Linked DNA regions of Homo sapiens: regions 1 and 2 are each linked to region 3. The links are contacts of gene promoters, found by promoter capture Hi-C in blood cells and fetal thymus (Javierre and others, 2016). All regions are on one chromosome and are shown on one strand. The core of a region is centred on a gene start or on the middle of the fragment in contact, and the rest is flanking DNA. Distances in the headings are between cores, read along the strand shown. Region 1 overlaps ALS2 (alsin Rho guanine nucleotide exchange factor ALS2). Region 2 overlaps LOC124906112 (a long non-coding RNA gene). Region 3 holds the start of BZW1 (basic leucine zipper and W2 domains 1).

Region 1 (3,838 bases), core at 920-3,419, 970 kb after region 3:
CTGTCTCAATTACCGGTTTAAAATAGTAAAACAACAGTAATAATTGTAGTTATAAGAGTAATGTTAATCAGTGATTAGAATGACAAGACATTCAGATAGAAAGGCAATAAAAATAATAGGTGAGTAAACTGTATCATAATGCCCTGAATGGAATATAGACATTGAGTGACTTGGATACAAAATTACCATAGATTTCATGTAGCCATTAACACTTCCTTTTTAAAGTCTGAGTTGGTTACATTTTATTACAATGTAGTAGAGTGACAAGTGATTTGGATACAAAATTACCATCAATTTCCTATAGTCATTAACACCTCCTTTTTAAAGTCTGAGTTGGTTACATATTATTACAATGTAGTAAACCAGAGTTTACACTTTGCAGTAAACAATAACAGAGTCTGGTATTTTACACATGGTAAATGCTTAATAAATAATTTGCTTTTAGAGGCTAGGTCAATGTTTACACATGGATTATGGTAACCTTTGACTCAAACACCTGACTTACAAATAATCTATACACCAACAACAACTGCTACTTCCTGGATATCCTGCCACTGAAGCCTTCCCAACCACTGTGGAAGGCTGAGGAAAACTCACCTTGCACTGAAGCCTTGGCCAACTAACCACCAAGAAGGCCACTTGGAACCCCACGCCTCTCAGCCTTAACTGCTGCACAGAAAGCATTGCCTGATACCAGTATGGGAGCCAATGAGCCTTCAAATCTTGACTCAGAGTAAGAGAATTCAGTAAATTAAGGCATTGGATATATTCGGTAGGCTGGCCTAGAAAGCTACTTATTAGTTATAATGTTGTTACTAATAGGATATGCACTAAGTCACTGATTCAAAATATATTTTAAGCTCCTGGAGGTCAGAGACTATGACTTATTCACCGGTATACTCTTGTACCCATAATAATCATTCTGAACAAGCTGGTTACATTTAAGTGAGTGCTTGAGTGAAAGATACAGCCCCTGATTTTCAGTTGCAATCCACAGACTTCCACGCTATAGATTTCTAGTGCCTGTAATAAAAGTCAGTAACAGATACAAAAGAAAAAAGTGTCTTCTCCTAATAGAAACTCTCATATATAATTTGCTAAAGGTATATCCTAACAATGAAGACACTTTTATCTCATGTCACTTTAAAAATGGTTAAACAACTCAGAGAAGTGTTCCTTTCTCCCTTTCTCCTTAGTACACAGACAGCTTTTGGTGCAATGAGAAACAGGAAGACTTTACAGTCTTTTTTTAATGCCTTGCTAATTTCATGCTGAAACTTACTGAAACTACACTCTCCTGGTTATGACGATCCTCTAATCGGAAATTATTCATGGTGGAGTGGGGGGAAAGTGTGTAAACATGGTACAATAAGTTCCCAGCAATGCCCATTTAGCTCTTTTTTGTACCCACTGCATATTTTAAACACATTTTTCAGGATTATTAAATAATAATCCCATGATGCATTGTGATGAATATTATAATACTAACAAATGAATTTCAAATTCCCAGGTACTGCCACTATTTGTGCCTGTTATTACATGGTACAGTGAATGTCCTGGTAAGTCCTGACACAAACTACTTATTCCGTTAATATTTGCAACTACTCTCTTATTAAAATGGCCACAATTTTTTCAAAGGCAATATTAGATTTACAGTTCAAAGTATGATGACTTCTTTCACCAACTGATAACAGTGCTTAGGATCATTCAGGGGCCACATAACTAAACAGGAAATACACATACTAAAAAATATTATTCTCGTGATACAAGTTTCACTTGCTTTAATAGTGCTAGTAGCAGGTTCTCTTTATTAGAAATAAAAATATTGTTTAACTCACAAGTTTAAATACTGAGGTTACATTAGGGATCAGCTACTAAACGTATTATTCATTAGTCAACCATTTAACACATTGTCATCAGGTTACTTACTAATATCTATAGAGACAACTATTTTCTTTGAGCAACAACTGGGATACTTGCATTCAAGGTATAAACTCAAGATAACTACGTTGTAATAAAATGTAACCAAGTTAAGCTTTTCAAAGTGTTAATGCTAATACTACACAAATCTGTAGTAATTTTGTATCTGAGTCACAACATGTCCAAATTCCTTTGAGGGCCTTATTATACAACTTGCTCCCCTATACTTCCAGAGTTCATGATTGGTATATGCCTACATTTCCCAAGCATCTCTAGAATGTTAATTCCCCTGCAGGCTTCATGTCCTAAAGAAAGCATTTTCCCAGGAGCACAAACAGCAAAGCAAAACTGACCAAATAATTGGTCTGTCTCCTCTCCTTAGAAAAGCTTTACATAGTGGAGCTGCACTGGCACATTCCTTTCTTATTGCAGGGAAAGAAGAGTTCTTTTTCCACAGTCTCCTAATTTGAGGGTACAAAGTAAAATAAAGCAAACATATTGGGAAACAGTCCTGATTATAAATAAAAATGTTAAAGTGCTAGTTTCACAAACTATCTTAACTATACATAAAACTGTAAAAATAAATAACAAATCTATGTACTCATCATCCAGTTTTAACACATATTAACATATTTTCATATTGGCTTCAGCTCTTTTTTAAAACACAAGAAAAAATAAGTTACAGAGGTGAAGAAACTCCACTCAGAATTAGTTACTATTTCTAAAGTTAATGTATCCCATTCCCACGTTTTCATATTTACTTTTATGTACTTTCATTAGATATACACATATCAATAAATAATGCATGCTATTATGTTGCTTTCAAAGTGTACACAAATGCATCTTACTGTATAAATCCTTTAGCATTTTGCTTTTTTCACCCAGTATTACATACTTGAGATGTATATATGTTGGTAAGTATAGATCTAGCTCATTCATTTTTATGAGAAGATAGTATTGAATTGCATGAATAAACCAGTTTATCCATTTCCCCACTAATCTTTACAGTTGGATTGCTCTACTTTATTGCTCTTTTAAAGAGCTGCTATAATCATCCTTGTTATATGTTTGCTTAGCCAATTGCCCCAAGTTTAGTTAAGATCTTGGCTCTACAAAAATTTAGGCTGTGGAAGAAAAAAAAATCCTGGAGTGAATGTTAGCCCACCCAAATGCCATTATTGGGTCTAAACCACTCCCTTCCTGATAGGGAGGCCATGTGAACTGAAGAACTGTGTGATGACTCAAAAGAAAAATATTTAAAATGTGATAATTAAGGGAAACATGAGATGATCAATTTGTGGAATTAATGAGATGAAAGCTGATCTTCTCTCTGGACATAATTCACTAGCAGCTAAGCGAAACTCTGCCAACAAACCCCAGTCTTTTTCTCATAGGTATTGAGAAAACTGTAAATTTTCTTCAAATTTGAAAGAAATATACAATAGCTCCAAAAACTACCAATTTAAATATTTTTTCCTCTACCCACCTGGATCAATCAGTTCAGCTACATGCAGGCAAACATCAAGACATAAGCTAAAGAAAGCACCATCACATATACAGATGAATAAGAGACAGGGAAAGGAAAATTAAATGCAATATGAAAAAGAAACAAGCCAGAGATTGTTGCTATTTTATTGATGACTACCTAACATTTTCTTAAGGACTGACACCCTACAAAACCGAGTACTTTCTTATTACAGACAACAAAATTGTTTGGTCATCAATGAAGGGTTAAGAGAAAAAAATCTGTTAAAACTCTCTACCAGGAAAATTCATATCCTGAATACACTTGAAATACGTGGTAGATTTAATTCCACAAAGTTATAAAAAGAGCTAAATGATTTAAAAGTCACAAATCCTCACAGCATGCCTCTGAGTGAGAAAGGTACCTCATAGTACCCAAAGCGGGCCTTCCTTT
Region 2 (4,074 bases), core at 1,271-3,770, 840 kb before region 3:
CAGAAGGCTTGAATGATAGGAAATTAGAGAGTCTTTGAAAGAGACTATCTTCTCATCAACTGTTTGTTTTGAGGTCTCGACACACCAAAGAAGTTGACTACTGAATTGTGAATATTATTAGTTTTCCTCATTTTTCTAGAGCTCTGCTTAAATGTATTAATTTTGACTATCAGAATGTCCCCCAAGGTAATCATTGCTACTTTGAGTTAAAAATATTTTTGCTGTACTAGGGTGAGCACGTGAGTTAGTATTTTAGTGAGAATTCATATAAAAAGTAGTTCTGCCAGTAAGAAGTTATGACTTTAATTTAGAAAAATTCATGACAAACAAGAAAGAAGCCATTATAGTCAAACAAAAATATATGCTAAAGAATAGCATCTCGGGTTACCTACCAACTGGGGCTAAGAAGGGACTATGCAATGAATGACATGACAATTTTTTACCCTGGCATATGGACTAAACAAAATGGCCTTTCATTAATTGATAAAAGAGGAAGTGTCCCTATGAAGGTGTTTAGGGGACAAAAGGCAAAGTTTGATCATGAATTTGTCATTGTCTACTGGACCTCTAATTCATAGTCCTTGGACTCAACTTGGATTGAATTGGAGGCTGAATGGACTTATTCCTTTGTTCATTCCCTATGTAGAACCCCCTTATATATCCAAGAAATAAAATGACTATGAAAGACAAAGAAACAGGAAAAAAAAAAAGTCCTAAGCCAAGACTCTGTACTAGTAGATGCACTAAAGCAAAACAAGCACACGCTTGAAGAATAATGAAATTAATGGCCAAAATATTGACAATGCCATCTACAAAGAACTATTTTGATAGGAATCCTCATTTAACAAACTCAACAATACATGCTCACTGAGAGTCAGAGTACAGATCAATATTGAGACAAATATACTTGGAACAAATCCAAAGGATAAATGAAATCTGGACACAAAGGGACCTGATGAGGACACCTTTATTTATTTTTAAGTTAGAGTCATCAAAATAACCTTGGTGGAACCTCATAGTTGTCAAAATATGAGACCACCACTGAAAATCAATATAAAACCCCAAATTTGAATTGATTTATTACCTTAGTAAGGGAGGAGTCTTGTCAAGCAGAGCAAACCATTGATCTTACAGGGATTTTTGAGGAAGAGTGTGTTGTGTTAGTGAAAGGTGGGAGTGGAATTATGTCAGCTTTATTTCAGATGTGTTAGTTTTCATGTCTACATGTTCCATTTGATTCTTTCTCATAGCTTCTCTATGTTCATGTTTTCCTTTAACTTGCTGGGCATAGTTATAACAGCTTTTTGTTTGTTTGTTTGTTTGTTTTGAGACAGGGTTTCATTCTGTTGCCTAGGCTGTAGTGCAGTGGTGTGATCTTGGCTCACTGCAACCTCTGCTTCCCAGGCTCAAGTGATCCTCCGACCTCAGCCTCCCAAGTAGCTGGGACTAAGGTGCATGCCACCATGTCCAGCTAATTATTGTAGATTTTGTAGAGATGGGGTCTCCTTATATTGCCCAGGCTGGCCTCAAACTTCTAGCTAAAGTGATCTGCCTGCCTCTGCCTCCCAAAGTGCTGGGATTACAGGTGTGAGTCACTCTGCCTGGCCCAACAGTTGTTTTAAAGTTGTCTTTCTTTAAAATCTCTTTCTAGTAAGTGATTTTTCTTTTGGTTATGGGCCACATTTTCCTGCTTTTGGCTGGTCTAGTAATTTTTAAAAAATAAATAGGGACAAGTTCTCACTATTTTGCCCAGACTGGTCTTGAACTCTTGGACCGAGCAATCCTCCTGCCTTGGCCTCCCAAAGTGCTGGGATTACAGGTGTGAGCCACCAGGCCTGGCCTGGTCTAGTAATTTTTTATTGGACACTGAATTTATGAATTTTCTGTCATTGAATATCTGGGTATCATTGGGTAGTATTTGCCTTGAGAAGAATGTTGAACTGTGTTCTCTTAGGTAGCCAGTTAGGTTATTTGGGGTTCAGGTTGATTTTTTTGAGGCTATTGTTAAGCTTTGTTAGGGTTTATCTAGACTAGTTTTTACTCTACCAAGAGTGTAGCCCCATTTGTATGGAGTAATTTATGGGGTCTCTACTGGATGCCCTGAGTTATCAAACAGGACAGCACTCTCCATGCTGGCTTAGGGAACCCAAATGAATTCCCAGCACTACAGGCTCTCTGAGAACTGTTCACTTCACAGCTTCTAGTCACTCTTTGCTTGACTTTATAGAGTCTCACTCTATAGCTTTTGTTCATAGCTTAGAGTTCACTAAAAACTCAAGGAAATTACTATACAAACTTCTGAAGTTTTGTTCCGCATAGCTTGCTCCTGTCTGAACATTTGCCTTACACCTCTGGCCTCTTCAGACTCCATGGCCTTCCATGTCTGTCTCCTCAATTCAGCAAGTTTATCATGTTTTGCTGGGGATTTTTTTCCCTGGCTGGGTGGTCTAGAAAGTGCCCCACACAGAAATCTGGGTTATCATAGGATCTGCCTTGTTCGTTTCTCTTCTTTCATAGATAAAAATACTGTGCTTCCTACTGTCCAGTGTTTGAGCACAGTAGTTTCATGTAATCTGCTGAGTTGTCTAGTGTTTAAGGCATCAGGATAAATGTTTATTATGGCCAAAGCAGAACTTATTTTCTTATTTTTAAATTTTTTTATTTTTAATTTTTGTGGGTACATAGTAGGGTTATATATTTATGGGGTGCACGTACATGGGATGTTTTGAAATAAGTATGCAATGTGTAATAATCACATCATGGAGAATGGGGTACCCATCCCCTCAAGCATTTATTCTTTGTGTTACAAACAATCCAATCATGTGCTTTTTGTTATTTAAAATGTACAATTATTATTGACTATAGTCACCCTGTTGTGCTATCAAATAGTAACTCTTATTAATTCTTTCCAACTAGTTTTTTTGTACTCATTAACCATCCCCATCCCCACTCCCCCACCCCACCTCCATTTCCCTTCCCAGCCTCTGGTAACCATTCTTCTTCTCTCTCTGAGAACTTGACATGTTTTTAAATAAGCTTTCTAAATGTGTTCTGTGTTGGTGTGAGGAACACCACACAGAGGAACAAACAGAGGAAGAAAAGAGTTTATATCATGTTCACTGGAGTTGTCTGACTTTTGAAATATGAAGCTGTCACTGTTGGCTTTCACCGAAGTGGCTATATCATCAATACAGGCTCCCTGATCAGAAAACCTGTAGATTCTCTTAAAATCAAGAACTAGTTAGATGTGTTCTACTTTGACCCAAATGAACTTGGCTTGCCAAGTATGGGACACACAGTGACACAGGAAGAAGTTAGAAAGGACTACTTCTGGGTGGCTTACCACTCTTTTCCCAGGACTGAGCATAGCCACTAAGACAATAAATTCTCAAAAATATTTGCAAACTAACAGGTGATGCTTATTTTTAGTTGGCTAGGCTCCTCAGACTATTCTCCATTAAGACTAATTTTCTCTCCTAGAAGAATAGCTATGAGCTACAAAATAACGCACTTAACTCCTGAATGTCAGCATTGGCTAGATCAGGAAAATGTTTTTAAAAACTCCTGAATGTTTTTAAAAAATTATCTGAATTAAATTTTTTCCCTAACTTTTCATTAGAAAAAATTTCAAACATACTGAAAAGTTGAAAGAAGGGTATTGTATTAGAGTTCCCCAGAGAAACAAAACTTATATTTATCTATCTCATATCTATGGAGAGAGAGAGAAACATAGATAACTATGGAAACATATATAGAGAAATTTAACATTCGTATAGTGGTTTAAATGTTAATCTCATCAAAAACTACTTTCACAGAAACATCTAGAATAGTGTTTGACCAAATATTTTCATTGAAAGCATTTGAAAGTAAGCTTCAGACATCATGTATTAATATTTCAACCCTAATATTTCAATATGTGTTTCCAAAGGATAAGGACACTATCCTATATAACCACATGTACATTAGCAATAATTCCATAGTATCAGCTAATACTTAAATTTAAAATTTCACCAGTTGTCTTTAAAATGACTTTTTAATTCAAGATCCAGTCAAGGTTTACCCGTTGCATTTGGT
Region 3 (4,033 bases), core at 367-2,866:
ATAGTGTGGACTGGGGCCTTGGGAGAAAGGAAGGGGCTAGACACTTAGAGATCAGACTCCAGCCACTTCCCTCTGCTCCCCACAGCCCTCCCAATCACACTAGCTTCTTGCAGTTCCTCCAACAGATGCAGTTTGTTTCCTGCCTCCTTCCCACTGCTGTTGCCTCAACTTGGAAGGGCATAGAGCCTGGATTTAACAAATATTTGCTTAATGATTCAGTAGATGATCTTGGAACTCTTTTAAGTGGAGTAAATGTTAAATCCTTGAGAATGTATGAGACTGCCATAGAAGAAAGTATCCAGAAAGAAAAGGTATCAGTACAGAAAAGAAGAGTCAGAAAATACCGTGCAAAGGCACATTCAGAACGTAACCAGGATAGCTGGAGCCAGGATTCAAGGAGAGAGGTAGGTAACATTCAATGCTCAGAGGAGGCAAACAGGGTGAAGAATAAAACACTGGGTTTGGCAATAATTTCAGGAACGAACGCTGAGAAAGTCATTTTTCCATGAAGTTGCGGGGGGGTGGGGTAGAGGTCAGATAGTTAATTAGGGAAAAGAAGTCAACAAACTATTTTATCAAAAGGTTTAGGGAAGAGAAGCCACTCTCCTCCTACCAGAGAGTGAGGAAGCAACTGGAGAGAAGTAAACTACTGTACAGTGAATAAAAACATGGGGCTACATCCTAGAGGCGCTGTGCATCTTTATCTGCACAGAGTTTTGTCACGTCCACAGTGCTTTTCACACGCACTATCTAATCTGATCGTACCCCAGCTCCCTGATGATATAGCCTCTAACTGAGGGGTTCTCAAGGTGCGGACCAGCAGCAGCATCACAGATAACTTGTTGGAAATGCACATTCATGGGTTCCACACCAGGCCTACAGAATGAGAAACTACGGGTGGGGCCCAGCAGTCTGTTATAACAAGTCCTCCAAGGGATTCTGATGCTCTCCAAGTCCCCATAGCCACCACACTCGGGAGACAACCGCTGCAGCGCGCAGGGACCGCGGTTGGAGGACAGAATTTCCCCTTCTCAATCTTCGGCCTGTGTCCTCTTCGCTCTTAAGGGAGGTAGTGAACAATGAGACAGCCCCTCAGAGAAAAGTCGCCAGGCAGGGGACTCAGCTGGAGCGAACTCCGCCCATCCCGGCCAGGGCGGAGGCGAGGTGCGGATTCCTTCCCCAAACCACGCCCCCATGCCCGCCCCCAGCCTCCGCCCCCGCACGACCCGAGGGCCCCCCGCCCTCGGGCTTCGACTTCCGGTGCTGGAGGAGGGGGCCGGCGGCGAGGGACTCCAGGAGGACGCGTCCAACTTCGAGACCGGCGGGGGCCGGCTCCGCTCTTCCAACCCCTCCATGTGTGAAGAGGGCGGACGACGCAGCGGGGGAAGAAAAATAAGCTAGTCTAGGACAAGTGTCCAGGCGACGTGGAACCCAGTAAGGGAATAAAGAAGACTGGAAACGTCTCTCCCCTCCCCTATCCCAGTCCCTCACCCTAATCCGCGCGCAATAGAAAAGGCGGAAGCGCCTGTCCACGATCAGGGCGGGGCAAGGGGAAGAAATCTCGCGATAGGAGAGCGGTCCGGGCGGGGGTGGCACCTCTCCCTCCTCCTGGCGTTAGTTCCGGTCGCAGAGGAGACACCGCCGCAGTTGCCGGTACATCGGGGATTTCTGGCTCTTTCCTCTTCGCCTTAAATTCGGTGAGACGCGGCGCCCCGCTCACCCCGGGCGGACGCTGCGGGTCGTGGACGCCGGGCAGAGGGAGAGGGAGGCGGCGGGCTGGATGCGGCCCGGCTTGGATGGGCCCGAACGGAGGTCGCCTCTTGAGGCCGGGCCGGATCTAGGGCCTGAAAGGCCGCCGCTTCGGCAGGGAGGCCGAGGGGTAGCGGCGGCCCGGGTGGGGAGGTGGGGTCCGGGTGTGCGCCGCGGCGCTGGCTGCGAAGGCAGTGGCCGAGGCGGGCTCCCTCTGGGCCGTGCCCGGCCTGGCTAACAAAGCCGCCGCGGCCTCTGTTGTGTGATGTACGCGTGGGGGCTTCCGGCGGGCGGGGCGGAGGGGCTGCCACCCACCACCGCTGCGGCCGCCGCCTCCGCCGCTGCTTTCGCTGGAGGGCGGGCGGATGTACGGGGCGCCTGGGGCCCCGGCGCAAAGCGCCTCAGTGACTGTGGTCCGCTCGTTGCGGCGGCCGCCACCGCAGGCGACAGGGTCAGTGGAGAAAGAGCCGCGGGACCCTACGGCGCCCCGCTGTGGCCGATGGGGTCCTGGGCGGGAAGCGGGTGATCTGTGGCTCGGGCGGGAGGCATGGGAAGGGTGTGGATTGGGAGACACGTTACCGGGGAGGAGGCTAGGACTGTGGGATATGGGCGAAGGAGGCTGGGCTGGCTGTTAGTTTTGCAGGCCTGAGTGGTGCAAGGCGGCCGCTGTTGCGGTCACAGGCATGACCTAGGGTAGGATGGTGCTGCCCGTAACCAGGCTTGTCAGAAGAAGGGGTTCACCTTTTGACAGTGTTTTAGAATTGGCATACACATTTTGGATGCCTGCTGACTATGGTGATAATCTCTCTTTGCGTTCTGCGATGCTTAGTGGTCGTGGAAGATGTAAGTGAATGTAAAGAGGAATGTGGAGAAAACTGAACAATTAGGTTTATGACGGGTGATCACTGTAGCACTACAATGTCGCTTAAAAGTAGTTCACAGCACTAATTTGAAGGGTTTCTTGTAGAGAGAAATGCACATTTTGACGTACATTTGATTCAAGTGCAGGTAATTCTTTGTGCCTGTATCGGGTATAATTGCCAGCTTTATATCCTGAGAGTGGGTGTTCCATTTGATTCATATGTGACTAGACTAAGGTTTGATGTTTTGCTTTAAAAATTAGTATTATGGCACTGATATTAAGGCTTTATTTCTCCTTTCCTAGGGTGTCTTTTATGAATAATCAAAAGCAGCAAAAGCCAACGCTATCAGGCCAGCGTTTTAAAACTAGAAAAAGAGGTAAATATTTACGTTTTAATGTCTCTCTTCAAACCTCCAGAACATCTTGTGTATCTTGCCTTCTCTGACAGGTACTTGCATATTACTAAAGCCTCAAAAGAAGATACCAGAAAGAAACTTGAATTTCTCGTTGACTGCCATTTCACATACACCTTTAATATTTCTACTGCTTTACTGCTCAAGCCTTAATTTTTAGTATCAATATATCTCTAAGCCGGTTAGTGAATCTTCTTTTCGGTGTGAAGGTAAAATATTTTTAAAAATAAAAATAAGGGCTCTGTTTTCACTAGCAGGCAGTCTCATTTAAGCAAACTTAAATGAGCAAAAATGTTAATTTATAAAAGGAGAACTCCTAATGTAGTCACCCAGATTTTGTGAAGATTTGTGAGAGAAAACTCAGACTTCACCCATGGAAGTTAATTGTGGAACAGGATTCACATTGTAATGTCTTTTGAAATACAGACTTAGTAGAAAAAGTATTAGAATTATATTACTATTTTTTTTTTGCATTAGTGTGTACTTAGGTGAGTATTGAATTCTGTAGCAAAGTGCTGTGCTAGTGATATAAAGCTAAATAAGACGTAGTCTCAGATATATTTTTACTGTTTTTGGTCAAAAGCATATTAACCTTGTTTTACAGGTGGTTTTGAGGAAATGAAGAACTAGGTCAGCTACTGGTTATAAGTTGTGTTTTTCTTTTTCTTCCTTAAGTAGCAGACATTTTGAGATATATATTGTAGAATTTTAAAATCACTAATCATAGGCTGTCTGTCCCCTTGTAGTAGTGGTGGGGAGACCAAAGTGTGATTTGATTCTAATCTTTGCAGATTCATTTAGATTTAGCTGGTAAATTTTCTTAAGGAGCTGGAGTTGTAAACTAGAACAGTTTGGCAGTAAAATGGGAAAGTGTATCTCTTGAATATGTGGGTTACTGATGTTACCTTGATACAAATAATAGCAAGTAGCTTTAGCATTCTTATTATTAGCATCAGGGAGAGATGTAACTTCCCCGGTTCCAGATAGAGATGATTCGTGGCCTGGCTGT

What was found. The method cuts DNA at HindIII sites, captures the fragments that hold promoters and counts their contacts. A CHiCAGO score of 5 or more calls a contact.
Region 1: a contact is called between a fragment that was not itself captured here and the fragment with the promoter of BZW1 in region 3, in 1 of 17 cell types (neutrophils). The highest score is 6.2, in neutrophils.
Region 2: a fragment that was not itself captured here is called in contact with the fragment with the promoter of BZW1 in region 3 in 2 of 17 cell types (megakaryocytes and fetal thymus); the score reaches 9.1 in megakaryocytes.

The regions. Positions count from the first base shown.
Region 1 is chr2:201,775,035-201,778,872 of GRCh38, forward strand. All of the region lies in intron 1 of ALS2 (alsin Rho guanine nucleotide exchange factor ALS2), which reads right to left. Among named protein-coding and RNA genes, the nearest start is that of ALS2, 4.0 kb to the right of the region's middle. The HindIII fragment of the contact is 272 bases long and covers 2,034-2,305 here.
Region 2 is chr2:199,967,825-199,971,898 of GRCh38, forward strand. LOC124906112 (a long non-coding RNA gene) reads right to left here. Exons shown (of 3, transcript XR_007088012.1): 3 at 2,773-4,074. Among named protein-coding and RNA genes, the nearest start is that of MAIP1, 14 kb to the left of the region's middle. The HindIII fragment of the contact is 1,027 bases long and covers 2,008-3,034 here.
Region 3 is chr2:200,810,294-200,814,326 of GRCh38, forward strand. BZW1 (basic leucine zipper and W2 domains 1) reads left to right here and starts at 1,617. Exons shown (of 12, transcript NM_001207067.2): 1 at 1,617-1,697; 2 at 2,915-2,988. The coding sequence starts at 2,925. BZW1-AS1 (BZW1 antisense RNA 1) reads right to left here and starts at 1,877. Exons shown (of 4, transcript NR_110275.1): 1 at 1,492-1,877. RefSeq lists enhancers at 831-1,090, 1,939-2,454, 2,455-2,970 and silencers at 1,141-1,290, 1,821-2,190. The HindIII fragment of the contact is 7,792 bases long and covers 1-4,033 here.